Linked DNA regions of Homo sapiens: all the other regions are linked to region 3. The links are contacts of gene promoters, found by promoter capture Hi-C in blood cells and fetal thymus (Javierre and others, 2016). All regions are on one chromosome and are shown on one strand. The core of a region is centred on a gene start or on the middle of the fragment in contact, and the rest is flanking DNA. Distances in the headings are between cores, read along the strand shown.

Region 1 (4,493 bases), core at 1,022-3,521, 100 kb after region 3:
GTGACCGGCAGAGAAGAGGAGGGGTGCCGGCCCGCTCAGCTGCCGGATCCCGGCCCCAAACCCTGGCCCAGCGCGACCCCTTACCCCCGCGAGCTTAGCAGCCACCGCTTCGGTCCAGCGCAGCCTCTCAACCCGGAACCAGCCGAATCCGAGCTGCCGGTGGCCGCGGCTGCCTCCCCGCCCCCGTGGGCGGGACCCAAGCAACTCCGCCCCCGCAGCGGGCGGGGGAGGGGCGGGGCCACCAGCCGGTTGACCCCGCCCCACCCCCACCATCCTCCAGCTCCCAGGGAAGCGAAGCCCAGCTGTTCCTTCGGGGTGTGTACTTGGAACTGCATCCAGGTCTCGCTTAGGGTCCCCGCGGCGAGGCGGAGCAGCTAATTTGAGAGCACAACAAATAAACAAGGAGCATCTTTCTGGATCATCGATTTGAAGATGTAGAAAAAATCATATTTTGTATTAAAACGAACAAGAATATATTTGGAATACAACTTCTGCATAAAATATAAAGATAAAACTCTTGAAATGCCCTGCTTGCTTAGAGCGAGTTCAAGGCCCTCACACTCCTAAGCCCTGGGGTCCCATTTCCTCTTCACTTTCTTAAGGAGTGCTTGGGGAGAAGTTTGGAAAGCCCTGGCTAACATCTGGCCCCGGAGGCTGCCTCCATTGGCAAACAATTCTGGAGTGCTGTATTTGTGTGTGTGTGTGTGTGTGTGTGTGTGTGTGTGTAAGGCGGTGAGGGGTGGAGCAGGAGAGAGGGAGAAAAAGTAATAGGAGAACTTGTCTTGTGTGCCAGATGGAGAGGGGATAAGGGATTTCTAGGCAGAGGAGACAGCCTGTGCAAAAGCATAGAGGCGTGAAAGGGGAGGGCGCAGTGAAGGAAGTGCTAGTAATTCTGTACTGTTGGGGGTGGGGTGGAGAAGGAGCCTGGGTGGGCTGGAGGGCATTGTGGGTCATGGTAAAGAATTTCTTGAAGGCATGGGGCTTTCAGGCAAGGGAATGACCTGGTCCGATTGGGTTTCAGGAAGTCTTGGAGATAATCATTATACCATCTGCAAGGTGAAGAAGACAGGGAGCTTTTCCAATGTGTCTGCGGATGCACAGCACTCAGCACACAGTAAAGGTGTGTAGCTGAATAACCGCATCAACGCCCTGGGTTGCAGGAGGAAGGAAAGACTGGGCACCCCTAAGGTGCTGTTGTCATCGTGCCTGCAGGAGGTGAGACCCGAACTGGGGCCTCAGCAGTGGGTAAGGAGAGAAGACTAGGGTATTGCAAGTACAGACACGGTGACATTTGGTGATGGTTGGATACGGGGGTGAGGGAAATGAGCCATAGAGGGTGGCTACCAGTTTCTGCCTCCTCCAGAAATATCTTCATTGGTGTTAAACTTTATTGAGGTACAGTTTATGAAAAAGCTCTCAGTTTAGTTCTCTATGGTTAACACTTTCTCCATCACACCCTCATCTGGCCCAGAATCTCCATCATTGCGAGAAAAATAGTTGGTTGCTCATGCAACAGCAGTTTCTCAACATTTTCTTATGGGCAGAGCCCTGATTTTGGTCAGGTGGCCCCCTTCCCCAAGTGACCCAAGGAAGGCTGACCCCAGCCCATTTCCAGGAGTGAGTCTTGTTTGGTCCAAGTCCATTATGGTGGTCTCATGGAGTGAGTCTTGTTTGGTCCAAGTCCATTATGGTGGTCTCATTCCTCTTGCCAGTGACGGTTTGGGCAGGTCCAGCCTGAAAAACTAAAGGGGAAGCCTATGGCAGAGAGGGGTTTTCAGGAAATGGTCTCTTTACTTTGCAAAACAGTCTGCCCCCTTTGCTGGGATATGTTTGGTGGCAATGCTTGGAATTGCAACAGCCATCTTGCTCCCAGTCTGAGGATGCAGCAAATACAGAAGGGAGGGCAAGGCCAAGAGAGTCCTAGGGAAGAGAAGCTTTTATTCTGATGCAGAGTCTGGACTTCAGGATATGTGAGATGGTCCATCTTATTGCATAAGCCAGTTTAACAGTAGTGCATTGTCACTTTGCAACCCAGAGAATCCCAACTGATATACTGACGTGCACCCCTAATGAGGGGGTGGGGAAAGTGAACAGGGCAGAGTCTAAATTATTGAAGCATTTGAAATGAAATGAAAAAAAAAAAGGCTTGATGATGGATGAAACAGTGACTTCATTATTCAACATGTATTTACTGATGCTGACTCCAAGCAGGTCTTTGTGAGGAGGTGGAATAAACTATGCTCCTTGCTCCCAAGGAGCTGGCAGTCTAGAGGGCAAAATCAATGAGAAATTCTTATCAGGCACAGTAGGGCTTGCTAAGCATTCTCACATATATTATTGGATTTCAGTCCCAAAGCAGCCTTAACTAGTTTATATTATTATCCCCGTTTTATAGAGGAAGATACCAAGGCTCAAATAAAGGAGATGTGATGGAAATTGCTAGCTGTCCACTAAACTTCATCCTCCTGTTCTTCTATGTAGTAGAGTAGCAGTCGGAGGAATGGCTGGTCCACTAGAGATCATACATCCCAGCTGTTCTTGCAGCCGAGTGAGACTTGGTGACTAAAATCTTTCTAATAGAACATAAATAGAAATAGACCTTAAGGCATGAAGCTTTTGCTCTCCCATGCTCCATTTTCTCTTCTCTTGAGTTGGAACATAGATGTACCAGGGACACAGCTTCAATAATGCTTCAAAAGGGCTGATGGAGCAAAGATATGGGAGGATCCTGGGTTCCTGAATGACTGCATGAAGTACAGCCACCCTGACATGGACTACAGAGTGAGAAGTAAACTTATTTTCTAAGAGCCATTGTATTTTGGGTCTTTTGTTGCAGCAGCCCAGCTTTCTCCATACTATTTTGCAGCTGTTTTTATTATTTATTTATTTGAGATGGAGTCTCGCTCTGTCACCCTGGCTGGAGCACAGTGGCATGATCTTGGCTCACTGCAACCTCTGCCTCCCAGGTCCAAGTGATTCTCCTATCTCAGCCTCCCTAGTAGCTGGGACTACAGGCGCATACCACCATGCCTGGCTAATTTTTGTATTTTTAGTAAAGACAGGGTTTCACCATATTGGTCAGGCTGGTCTCAAACTCCTGACCTCAGGTCATCCAACCGCCTCTGCCTCCCAAAGTGCTGGGAATACAGGCATGAGCCACTGCGCCCAGCCAATTTTGCAGCTGTTTTTAGAAGAGGCTCTGGTACTATTTTACTCTATTGTCTAAATCCTTTCAGTAGATAGTCTTAATATGTAGGTCTAATCTCCTCCAAAGGACATAGTATGTGGTTTTCTCTGGCTGAAAGTCACAGACTCTTTTTTTTTTCTTTTGAGATGGAGTCTTGCTCTGTTGCCCAGGCTGGAGTGAAGTGGTGCAATCTTGGCTCACTGCAACCTCCACCTCCCAGCCTCAAGCAATTCTTGTGCTTCAGCCTCCCGAGTAGCTGGGATTACAGGTGCCCGCCACCACGCCAAGCTAATTTTTGTATTTTTAGTAGAGAGGGGGTTTCACCATGTTGGCCAGGCTGGTCTCAAACTCCTGACCTCAAGTGATCTGCCTGCCTTGGCCTCCCAGAGTGCTGGGATTATAGGTGTGAGCCACCGTGCCCGACCCAGTCTCTTCTCTTTCACTTTACTTCCCAGTGTTCAGTCCTTTTATCCTCTGAGCAGTTCTTCTCTTGACCTTATTCCATCTCCATTAAGATGCAGAACACTAAAACTGTTGATTATCTTTACATTTGGCAAGTCATTGCTCTCTCCACATCTGATGTGGTTGAGTGGTCTGAACTAAGACTTAGAGATCCTGACTGCAGTGTATGCCATCTGCTTCCATTCATACTCCAGAAATTAACATCAGGAATTTTTTTTTCTGGAAAGCTATCCAAGAGCTATTGTTGAGTGAGAAAAAGAAAAGAAAGACCCAAATACACTGACACATAGACACCCACAGACTTAGACACAATCACAGGCATTATTTGCATAACAAAAATTCTATAGAACTATATTCTAATTGTGTTCTTTTGTGGGCTGGGATTATGGGGGACTTTAACTTTTACATTAGATAGCTCTGTTTATTATATATATTTTTGTAATCAGAAAAAATAAAGAAAATTGATCCTCATTATTTATGGATTCCATATTTGCAAAATCACCTACTTCTAAAATTTATTTGTAACCTTCAAATCAATACTTGAGGCACAATTGCTATTATTTGTGGACATACTTATGTGCAGTGGTGAAAATCTTGACTTACCCACACATATGTTCCCAGCTGAAGGTGAACAAAGGGACACCCTGCCTTCTTGTCTCAGCTGTCATAGTGTAAACAAGTATTCTTTTTGTGACTTATTTGGTGCGAACCGTTCTCATTTTTTGTGCCTTTTTGTTGGTGATTTTGCTATTTAAAATGGCCCCAAGCATTGTGCTGAAGTGCTCTCTGGTGTTCTCAAGCACAAGAAGGCTGTGATGTGCCTTAAGGAGAAAATACGTGTGCT
Region 2 (5,063 bases), core at 722-3,221, 130 kb before region 3:
CCTTGAACACTTCATCATCCATTCCTACCTCACATGGCAGAAGTAAATGTTTATTAACATTCCCCCAGCCCCCACTTCTTTTTTTTTTTTTTTTTTTTTTTTGAGACGGAGTTTCACTCTTGTTGCCCAGGCTGGAGTGCAATGGCGTGCTCTCGGCTTACTGCAACCTCTGCCTCCTGGGTTCAAGCGATTCTCCTGCCTCAGCCTCCCAAGTAGCTGGGCTTACAGGCGCCCGCCACCATGCCCAGCTACATTTTTTGTATTTTTAGTAGAGATGGGGTTTCACCATGTTGGCCAGGCTGGTCTCGAACTCCTGGCCTTCAAGTGATCCTCCTGCCTCAGCCTCCCAAAGTGCTGGGATTACAAGTGTGAGCCACCGTGCCCAGCCCACTTTTTTTTTTTTCTTGAAAAAGAAGAACATTGGATAGGATCAACAATGTCAATTTTGAGTGTGTAATTTGGTGCCAAGGAAGTAAAATAACCCCAAATTACTCATGAATCCACAGCAATCTATTACTACGACACAGAATTACTCAGGGCACGAGATTTGGCATTCCTGTTTTTGGGTACCTGGTCTGAGCTCTTGCCTCTGACTCATGCTGCATGACATGAAGCTATTAAAATCTCCAAACCGGCCTGGTGCAGTCACTCACGCCTGTAATCCCAGCACTCTGGGAGGCCGAGGCAGGTGGATCACCTGAGGTCAGGAGTTCAAGACCAGCCTGGCCAACATGGTGAAATCCCGTCTCAACTAAAAATACAAAAATTAGCCAGGCATGGTGGCGCATGCCTGTAATCCAGCTACTCGGGAGGCTGAGGCAGGAGAATTGCTTGAAACTGGGAGGCGGAGGTTGCAGTGAGCCAAGACCACACCACTGCACTCCAGCCTGGGCAACAAAAGAGGAATTCCATCTCAAAAAAAAAAAAAAACAATCTCCAAACCTTAGCTTCTATTCCACCAAATGGAGGTATAGGTACTTGTCACATTCAAACGTAGCTAAACACGTTCTAAAACTGCATGTGAGACCTTGTCCTCAAAGATATATGGCGTAAAAACATCGTACACTCTGTCCTACTTTCTGGCTTTTACATACTCTATTCCTTCTACCTAGAAATGTCTTGTCCTTACTTCTTGCCCTGACAAGTACCCATTTAAGAACCAACTCAGGTGTCATTTTCTCTGTAAAATATACTTAACCTCTCTAGGCAGCTCGTTGCCTACTTCGTGGGTGTGCACAATTATTTTATAACACTTACATTATAATGTAACTAACTGTTTATATGCTTGCCTTCCAAACCACACTGGACTTAAGGAGACATATCATCCACTTTTTAATCTCAGTCTAGTATACTGGTTCATGCTCAAAATACCTGTGTTGCATGAATGACAGAGACCCTCTCTTGTTTTGGTTGTTTGACCTTCCCTAGGACATTCTAGGTCTTCTCCTAGGCCATCACTCTGCTCTAAAGCAATCTTTTCAATGTATCCATGTATCTATTGGCTTATTATATGCCAGGTACTATAACCTAATCCTAAAATTTCATATAAACCCACTTTAGTGGTAAACCCCTAAGTTCTGAATACGGTAATCTTCTTCCCGAATAGTTGGAAAAAAAAAACCTCGCCTGGGCATGGTGGATCACACCTGTAATCCCAGCACTTTGGGAAGCCAAGGTGGGTGGATTGCTTGAGCTCAGGAGTTCGAGACCAGTCTGGGCAACATGGCAAAACCCCATCTCTACAAAAAAAAAAAATACAAAAATTAGCTAGGCGTGGTGGTGCATGCCTGTAGTGCATGCCTGTAGTCCCAGCTACTCAGGAGGCTGAGGTGGGAGGACGGCTACAGCCCGGGAGGTGGAGGCTGCAGTGAGCCAAGATCGTGCCACTGCACTCCAGCCTGGGAGACAGAGCTAAACCCTGTCTCAAAAAAAAAAAAAAAAGAAAAGAAAATACCTCATCCTTGAAACCCAATCTGCCCTGTCCACTTTGTTCCTTCTCTTCCACGTCCCATGCTGGTGCATCTCTCCTACTCTGCTCTTTTAGCTTAACCAATCAGTCAGGCTTGCTAATCAGAAGCTAAAAGAAAGGTGTAGAAAATTACATGCTGTGAAGAATACAGACACAGCTGGGTGCAGTGGCTCATGCCCATAACCCCAGAACTTTGTCAGGCAAAGGCAGGAGGATCACTTGAACCCAAGAGTTCAAGACCAGCCAGGGCAACATGGTGAAATCCCATCTCTACGAAAGACACAAAAATTAGGCCGGGCATGGTGGCTCATGCCTGTAATCCCAGCACTTTGGGAGGCTGAGGTGGGTGGATCACCTGAGGTCAGGAGTTCGAGACCAGCCTGGCCAACCTGACAAAACCCCTCTCTACTAAAAATACAAAAAAATTAGCTGGGCATGGTGGCGTGCACTTGTAGTCCCAGCTACTCCCAGCTACTCGGGAGGCTGAGGCAGGAGAATCACTTGAATCCAGGAGGCAGAGGTTGCTGTGAGCCGAGATTGCACCACTGCACTCCAGCCTGGGTGACAGAGTGAGACTCTCTCTTCAAATAACAACAACAACAAAAATTAGCCGAGTGTGGTGGGGCGCGGTGGCGTGTGGTGGCACATGCCTGCAGTCCCAGCTACTTAGGAGGCTGAGGTGGGAGGATCACCTGAGCCTGGGAGGTTGAGGTTCTAGTGAGCTGAAATTGCACCACTGCACTCCAGCACGGGCAACAGAGTTACAGAGTTAAACCCTATCTCAAAAAAATAAAAAATAATAAAAAAGAAAAAGACTACAGACCGCCCACCCCAGCCCCTGCTGCTTAAGTTCATACAACTTTTACTCATTTTATTAATTTCCTAAATCTTCAGAAACTTCATAAAGTGACAAGCTAGACCACAGCATTACTTAGCTTCAGCCCTGGAAAGAGATTTCCATTAGTATAAATTTGATTATGCTCCAATAGACTTCAGTGGTTAAAGAAATGTGTTCCTATATTATGTCTGTACTTTCCATCCCCAAGTCATGTAACATAACTAGGCTACCCATTTACAAATAGACCCCTAGTAGGCATCAGGGTGGTAGACATGCGCCAACTTGTCACAATGAACTGTACCCTTAACATCTTCATTTTTCCTGCCCTATTTAAGACCCATCTCTAGGCTAGACAACTCCAAGAGCCTCCTTATCTGCTCTCCCTATTCCCCACTCCATCCAAATTCCATTCTGGAAGGTTACTCTTTTGCTTAAAATCCTTCAAAGAAAAAGAAAAAAGAAAAAAAGTGCTTCAACCCAAAACTTATTTCCATGGCTTACACAGGCCTATCAACCTGAATCCAGTCCACGTTTTCAGGTTGATCTCTAGTCATTTCCCAGGTATGGGGTCTTGCTATTACCCAGGCTGGTCTCGAACTCCTGGGCTCAACTAATCCTCCCACCTCAGCCTCCTAAGCAGCTGGGACCACAGGTGCACACCACCATGCCTGCTCCTCTGTGAAGTCTTTCTTGAAACCATCATGCAAATTCTATTGTTCTTTCATCTATCTAAGAGCACCCGTATTTTCTTTAGTATTTATCATATGACATTTGAATAATTTTCTATCTATCTATGTATCAATTATCTGTCTCCTCTACCAGGTGAAACTTCCTATCAAGAAAACCATGTCTAAGTTCTTTTTGAAATACCCAGTACTCACCCAGGGTTCAACAGTGTATCATTCTGAAAGTATCTGTTGAAGCCAGGTGTGGTGGCTCACACCTGTAATCCCAGCACTTTGGGAGGGTGAGGCGGGTGGCTCGCTTGAAGTCAGGAATTCAAGCCCAGCCTGGCCAACATGGTGAAACCCTGTTTCTACTAAAAATACAAACATTAGCTGGACATTGTGGCACATGCCTGTAATCCCAGATACTTGGGAGGCTGAGGCAGAAGAATCGCTTGAACCCGAGAGGCAGAGGTTGCAGTGAGCTGAGATGGCACAACTGCACTCCAGCCTGGGCGACAAAGCGAGACTCCATCTCAAAAAAAAGTTGTCTGTTGAATTGAATGATCACCTGTCTATACTATTCTTGCTTATCTCTTTCATCTCTATTCTTCCTCTGAGAACTATGCTGCTCATATTTCTTATCTTTTTCATCAAAATTCATCTATGTACCACACTCTTCTAGAGCCTAATTGAAAGACTTTGTACACAGAGTTGTAGAAATGGTTGGAATATAGATATCCTAGTCTAGAGACATGAGCTCTCAATCTATTCAGAGCATAAGGTTTATGGTTAAATAAGGACACTAACCAAAGGCAGGCCAGCATGGTAACTATTAAAGGAGTTTAGGGAAAGTTTGAGTTAAGCCTTAAAGATGCTACAGAAAAAACAAAAACCTGTTTCCTGGTGATCTAAATTGGGGAAATTACATTATATTGAAGATTTATACTACATATTAGCATATTAGCATGTTTAAAGATTTAAGAAACTCATAAACTTGTTTTATTTTGTTTAACTCAGTATTTTCCAAGCTTATTTCCTCACAAAACATTTTTCTTTCAAGTAATGCCTATAACATACCTTAGGAAATAGTGATGTGAGTGAAAAATAGAAAATAAAATCAAAAGATGGTTGGAGATGGCCGGGCGTGGTGGCTCACGCCTGTAATCCCAGCACTTTGGGAGGCTGAGATGGGTGGATCACGAGGTCAGGAGATCGAGACCATCCTGGCTAACACGGTAAAACCCCGTCTCTGCTAAAAATACAAAAAATTAGCCAGGCATGGTTGCAGGTGCCTGTAGTCCCAGCTACTCAGGAGGCTGAGGCAGGAGAATAGCATGAACCCGGGAGGTGGAGCTTGCAGTGAGCCGAGATTGCACCACTGCACTCCAGCCTGCCTGGGCAACAGAGCGAGACTCCATCTAAAAAAAAAAAAAAGATGGTTGGAAACTGTAAAGGAGCTTAAATGATAAGGGTAGATCAAATAAGTTCTCAAAGACATAATAAGAACTCATCTTATAGGTTAGGTAGTCAATGAATAGTCTTAGGCAGGGGAGTGATACAGATGTTCTCCTTTAGTACAAGTACTTTG
Region 3 (5,081 bases), core at 2,331-4,830:
GAAGACGGCCATGTGACTGGAGTGATGCATTACGAGCCAAGGAACGCCAAGGATTGCCAGCTAACACCATAGGCTAGAAGAAGCAAGGAAAGATTCTCTCCTAGAGCCATCAGAGAGAACATGGCCCTGCCAACTCCTTGACTCCAGACTCCTAGCCTCCATAACTGGAGACAATACATTTCTGTTATTTTAAGCCACTCATTTTTGGTACTTTGTTATGGCATCCCTAAGAAATTAATACTGGTGGAATTTTGGGAAGCCTGAATAAAATGATGAACAGGAAAGTATTTTTCAAACTCTCCAGTTCTATGTACTAATAAGGCATTTTTATTATTGCAACGTTTGTGACTATGATTACTCTTGGTTTATGAAGAATAGATTGACTTGGCTGACATGATTCTGACTAGAGATCAGAAGATTTTTATCCTGCTTCTGCTCCATGTTCTTGAGGGCTCAGCACAGCAATCATAGATGCTACAACAGCAGTAGCATGAGAGACAAGCAGAAGAGAAGCTACCAGCTTTTGGGTTGGATGCTGGCAGGATGAGTGTGTAACTTTTGTTTAGCTGGGGCCAGAATTCTCAGCCACTGATTGGCAGTCAAGCATAAAGGTTAAAGGTCAGAATTGGCTTGTATTTAAATCTAGTCTTCACCTTTACTTGCTGTGTGATCCTGGGCAAGTTATTGAACTTTTCTGAGCTTTATATTCCTCATCTGTAAAATGAGAACAAATGTGGCTCCTGTGACATAGGGTTGTCATGGAGTTTCAATGACATCACATAACAAGCAGGGAAAAAAGAAAAAGCCACAGCCTATCTGTACTCAGTCCAGGGTGCAGATTTTTCTGCTCTGATTACTTACTCTTGATAGATTCCAAATGGACAGACTGGATTCTGGCTCGTTTCTTCTTACCTCTATTGATTCATTCAGTAAACATATTGAATGTACCTATTATGTGCCTACTAGGTGATGAAAAAAGCTGGTAGGGCAGACCCAGACCATGACATCCAAATGCAGACAGCTCAGAGAATGATTTAACTAAAAGTAGAGCCAAAGTTATTCGGGTGCTCCTCTCCTCTCAGTCTAATTTTTTTTTTTTTTTTGAGACAGAGTCTTGCTCTGTCACCCAGGCTGGAGTGCGGTGGCGTGATCTCGGCTCACCGCAAGCTCCGCCTCCCGGGTTCACGCCATTCTCCTGCCCCAGCCTCCCGAGTAGCTGGGACTACAGGCTCCCGCCACCGCACCTGGCTAATTTTTTTTTGTATTTTTAGTAGAGATGGGGTTTCACCATGTTAGCCAGGATGGTCTCGATCTCCTGACCTCGTGATCCTCCCATCTCAGCTAGGATTACAGGCGTGAGCCACCGCGCCTGGCCCTCTCAGTATAATCTTTTAGGGTTTCTGCCATGGCCGTCCTAATCTACCCTTCCTGATTGGTAGATACTTGTTCTCATACTATGTTGCAAATGACTATTAATCTCAAAGAAAGGTCCTGCAAATGACTGTCCTATAAAGCTGCCTCCTGAAATACTACTCCTATGCATAGAAAACAAGATGGTTCCAGGCAGAAGGGCCCAGAGAAATCAGTCTGAAACCTCTCAGTTCACAGGGGGAAATCAAGCCAGGCAGAAGTGACCCAGATCCAGTTAGGGTGACTCAGCCAAGGACACCCAGCAATTATATGTCCCAGCTGGGTAGGGAGCAGAAAATGGCTCTCCTGCTTCTGGTCCCTGCCCCACACCATTTGTGTACTGAGCATGTTCTAACTAGGTTGTGCAGTGTCCTAGGGAGATACTAAGGCGGGACAAGAAGTGCCTCTGATTTAAAAAAAAGTCTACAGCCCACTGGGCATGGTGGCTCACGCCTGTAATCCCAGCACTTTGGGAGGCTGAGGCAGGCAGATTGCTAGAGCTCAGGAGTTTGAGACTAGCCTGGGCAACAGGGCGAAACCCTGTCTCTACAAAAAATACAAAAATCAGCAAGGTATGGTAGCATGCACTTGTAGTCCCAGCTACTTGGGAGGCCGAGGTTGGAGGATCACTTGAGCCTGGGAGGTGGAGGTTGCAGTGAGCTGAGGTCATGTCACTGCACTCCAGCCTGGGTGACAGAGCCAGATCTTGTCTCAAAAGAGAAAAAAAAAAAAAAAAGCCCACAGCCTAGCAGGGGACATGAAGACATATGGTAGACCAAAAGCCCTTTGGCTTCATTGATTTGAAATGCTGCCTCCATTGTGTACCAATCTCCAATGTATATGGGACTGTTGTAGACCCTGTTCTGTTTTACCACTGTCTCTTCCTGCTCCAGCACCATACTGTTTTAAAGACTGTAGTTTTGGCCGGGCGCGGTGGCTCACGCCTATAATCCCAGCACTTTGGGAGGCCGGGGCGGGTAGATTACTGGAGGTCAGGAGTTCAAGACCACCCTGGCCAATATGGTGAAACCCCATCTCTACTGAAAATACAAAATTAGCTGTGCGTGGTGGCATGCGCCTATAATCCCAGTTACTTGGGAGGCTGAGGCAGGAGAATCGCTTGAACCCAGGAGGCAGAGGTTGCAGTGAGCTGAGATCGTGCCATTGCACTCCAGCCTGGGCAAAAAGAGTGTCTTGACTGTTCTTGTACACTTACTTTTCCAGATGAACTTTTATATCAGCTTTTGAGTAACACAGCTATTGAATCTTCCTCAGCATTCTTGTCTATGCCAGGCACCAGGCTCTTGAGCAGGGTATTCAGTCCTTGCCCTTGGGAAATCACAAACTAGATGCAAAGTGTAACCAAACAAGAAGTGTAAAATAACAACAGGAATCTCACGCTATGGGTAACAAGAACCAAATGAGTGAGGGGTCCAGACAGACTAAATGCTGTGTTCCTTGGGGCCAGGCAAGTCATGGAAGGTTCAACAGAGGTGACATTATACAGGACTTTGATGGGTGAGCAGCAGCTTTCGGTATAGAAGAAATGCTTTGAGTTGAGGAAGTCCGGGAAAGCTTCTTGGAGAAGGAGACACATTTCTATTGAGAGATGAGTAAGAGTTTGCCGGGTTCACAGGATGGGATAAAGGGAGGGATTGCCCTGAACTGGGAAAGTCACAAAAAGGTTCTCTGAAGACATTTTAGATGCGTTTTGAGTTGGAGTCGGGGAAGATGCCTGGAAGAGGCAATTAAATAAAAAGAATTTTATTACAAAAGTAATACAAGGACATGTCATTGGAACCGGGTTTCGAGAGATGAGTGAGCAGTTCCTGACGCAGACAAGAGCTGGACCACGAAGTAAGTTGAGGCAGAGGCAGAAAAGGCTTCCTGGTCCTGCCCACTCTCTAAGACCTAAGATGCAGGGTCTAAGTGTCTCACCTGCGTGGCGGCGGCCCTGTAGTTCTGACTTCCAGCGTGAGGTAGCCACCGCCAGGCCTCCGGGGGAGAAGACTACAGTAAGGGCGAGCAGAGCTGAATGCTTTATGTCGGAATCGACCAATGGGATGGCGGCACCCGGTTGCCAGGGCTACGGCCAAGCGGAGGTAGGGCCTCGGCACTATGGGCGGGGCCTGGGCGGGGTTATATAAGCCAGCGGCGGGCGGAAGGCGGGGCGTGGGGGTCTGTGGCTGCTGGGCTGGCGGGGCGCAGGCCGCGGGACCCGAGCCCGGGGAAGCGAGAGAGCGGAGGCGCCGAGGATCCGATTCACTCCCTGGGGAGACCTATGGGCCGAAGCCGTGTAAATGCGTTTTAAGGCGAGTGCGGAAAGTGGCCTGGGGAGCCTCGGGGAGCGGACGCCCTCCGCCCTGGTGCTGACCTGCCTCCCTGCCCCTTCTGCCTCCTGTCAGCAGAGGCCTCGGCTCCGCAACTGCCACTCCTCCTCGGGGTGTTGCACAAGTTTCGAGGTCACCGGCGACCCCCCCTAGCAGCGCGCCTGGCTCTGGCCCCCGCGAAGGAGGACGGAGTTTGGTAAGGGGCCCTGGGGGTTGGGGGGACCTCAGCCCTGCACTCTGTAGGAGTCACTCGGACAGAAAAAACCTCGGCCTTCCGTTCTCTCCCAGGAGCTTGCGGCCCCCACCCACCGCGTGGCGTCCCCAGGCACGCCTAGAATTCTAGCACCTCAGGATCAGTCCAGCCCCCATTTACAATTGGGGAAACTGCGGCTCCGAAAGGGTCAGAGGGTACCCGAGGTCAAGCAGTAGAGAGCGGACTCGAACTTAAGCTCTTGCTCTTAGGCTGAGACGCCTTGATGTGGCCACCGGCTACCCTCTAGGTGGGCGTGGTCAAGACTGGGGGCGCCCTGGAAACTTCCCCACCCAAGTTTCTCAGATTTTCTGTTCCATCTCTCTCTCACTCTTTCCTGAAATCCAGAATTTCAGAACTGGGAAGGCTCTCCAAAACAATTCATCCATTTTACAGAGGGAGCAACTGACTCGGAGAGGCAGTGACATTTGGGCATACGGTGCCTTGTCTCCGTCTGAAATCCGGGATTCTTGACTTTCTCCACCCTTGCCCAGTGAACCCCGGGCTTGTGCTGGGGGCGGGTTGTGACGGGATTGGGATCCCTGGCCTCGGGAGGCGAGTGGGGCAGCAGAGCCGGCCCCCCAGCGGTTCCCTTCATCTCCCCTCGCCCCGCAGTGTGTTGCATACTTTCTAAGGCGGCGGCTGCAGCAGCGGCTCCATCCAGCCCGTCAGCTCCTCCTGCAAGGCATGGCTGGCTACCTGAGTGAATCGGACTTTGTGATGGTGGAGGAGGGCTTCAGTACCCGAGACCTGCTGAAGGAACTCACTCTGGGGGCCTCACAGGCCACCACGGTGAGGGGCTGGGAATGGGGGTGGGTCCCCGGTCCCCTGTACAGATCAGCTGCCTCCTCAGGAAGGGTCCCTAGGGCCCTCATCTTATCCTTTCGCTTATTTGGTACGCAATCCTTGCTATTTGCAAGAGAGGGGCTCAATTTATCCCCAATTCTTTGTCCTTGCCCCCAAACCTGCCCCTCCTATGTTGCCTTTTTACCCAGCCCTCCAAGGTCAGAAACGGGGGATTCCTTTCCTGCTGCCCCCTCTCCCTCACCGCCCACATCTAGGCATTACCAAGCTCTGTGAATTCTGCCTCC

The links. Contacts are between HindIII fragments. The CHiCAGO score rates a contact against its expected background, and 5 or more counts as called.
Region 1: a contact is called between a fragment that was not itself captured here and the fragment with the promoter of AZIN2 in region 3, in 1 of 17 cell types (naive CD4 T cells). The highest score is 6.2, in naive CD4 T cells.
Region 2: a contact is called between a fragment that was not itself captured here and the fragment with the promoter of AZIN2 in region 3, in 12 of 17 cell types (activated CD4 T cells, naive B cells, total CD4 T cells and 9 more). The highest score is 9.4, in activated CD4 T cells.

The regions. Positions count from the first base shown.
Region 1 is chr1:33,181,910-33,186,402 of GRCh38, forward strand. It overlaps TRIM62 (tripartite motif containing 62), which reads right to left and starts at 134. Exons shown (of 5, transcript NM_018207.3): 1 at 1-134. It also overlaps a transcript of ZNF362 not described here. RefSeq lists a silencer at 1-308. The HindIII fragment of the contact is 679 bases long and covers 1,933-2,611 here.
Region 2 is chr1:32,953,824-32,958,886 of GRCh38, forward strand. All of the region lies in intron 1 of RNF19B (ring finger protein 19B), which reads right to left. Among named protein-coding and RNA genes, the nearest start is that of RNF19B, 8.5 kb to the right of the region's middle. The HindIII fragment of the contact is 5,060 bases long and covers 1-4,501 here.
Region 3 is chr1:33,077,573-33,082,653 of GRCh38, forward strand. It overlaps AZIN2 (antizyme inhibitor 2), which reads left to right and starts at 3,581. Exons shown (of 12, transcript NM_052998.4): 1 at 3,581-3,722; 2 at 3,816-3,936; 3 at 4,029-4,240; 4 at 4,606-4,782. The coding sequence starts at 4,678. It overlaps LOC105378635 (a long non-coding RNA gene), which reads right to left and starts at 3,424. Exons shown (of 3, transcript XR_947163.2): 1 at 3,349-3,424; 2 at 2,627-2,755; 3 at 312-714. RefSeq lists a silencer at 3,543-3,802. The HindIII fragment of the contact is 16,354 bases long and covers 2,984-5,081 here.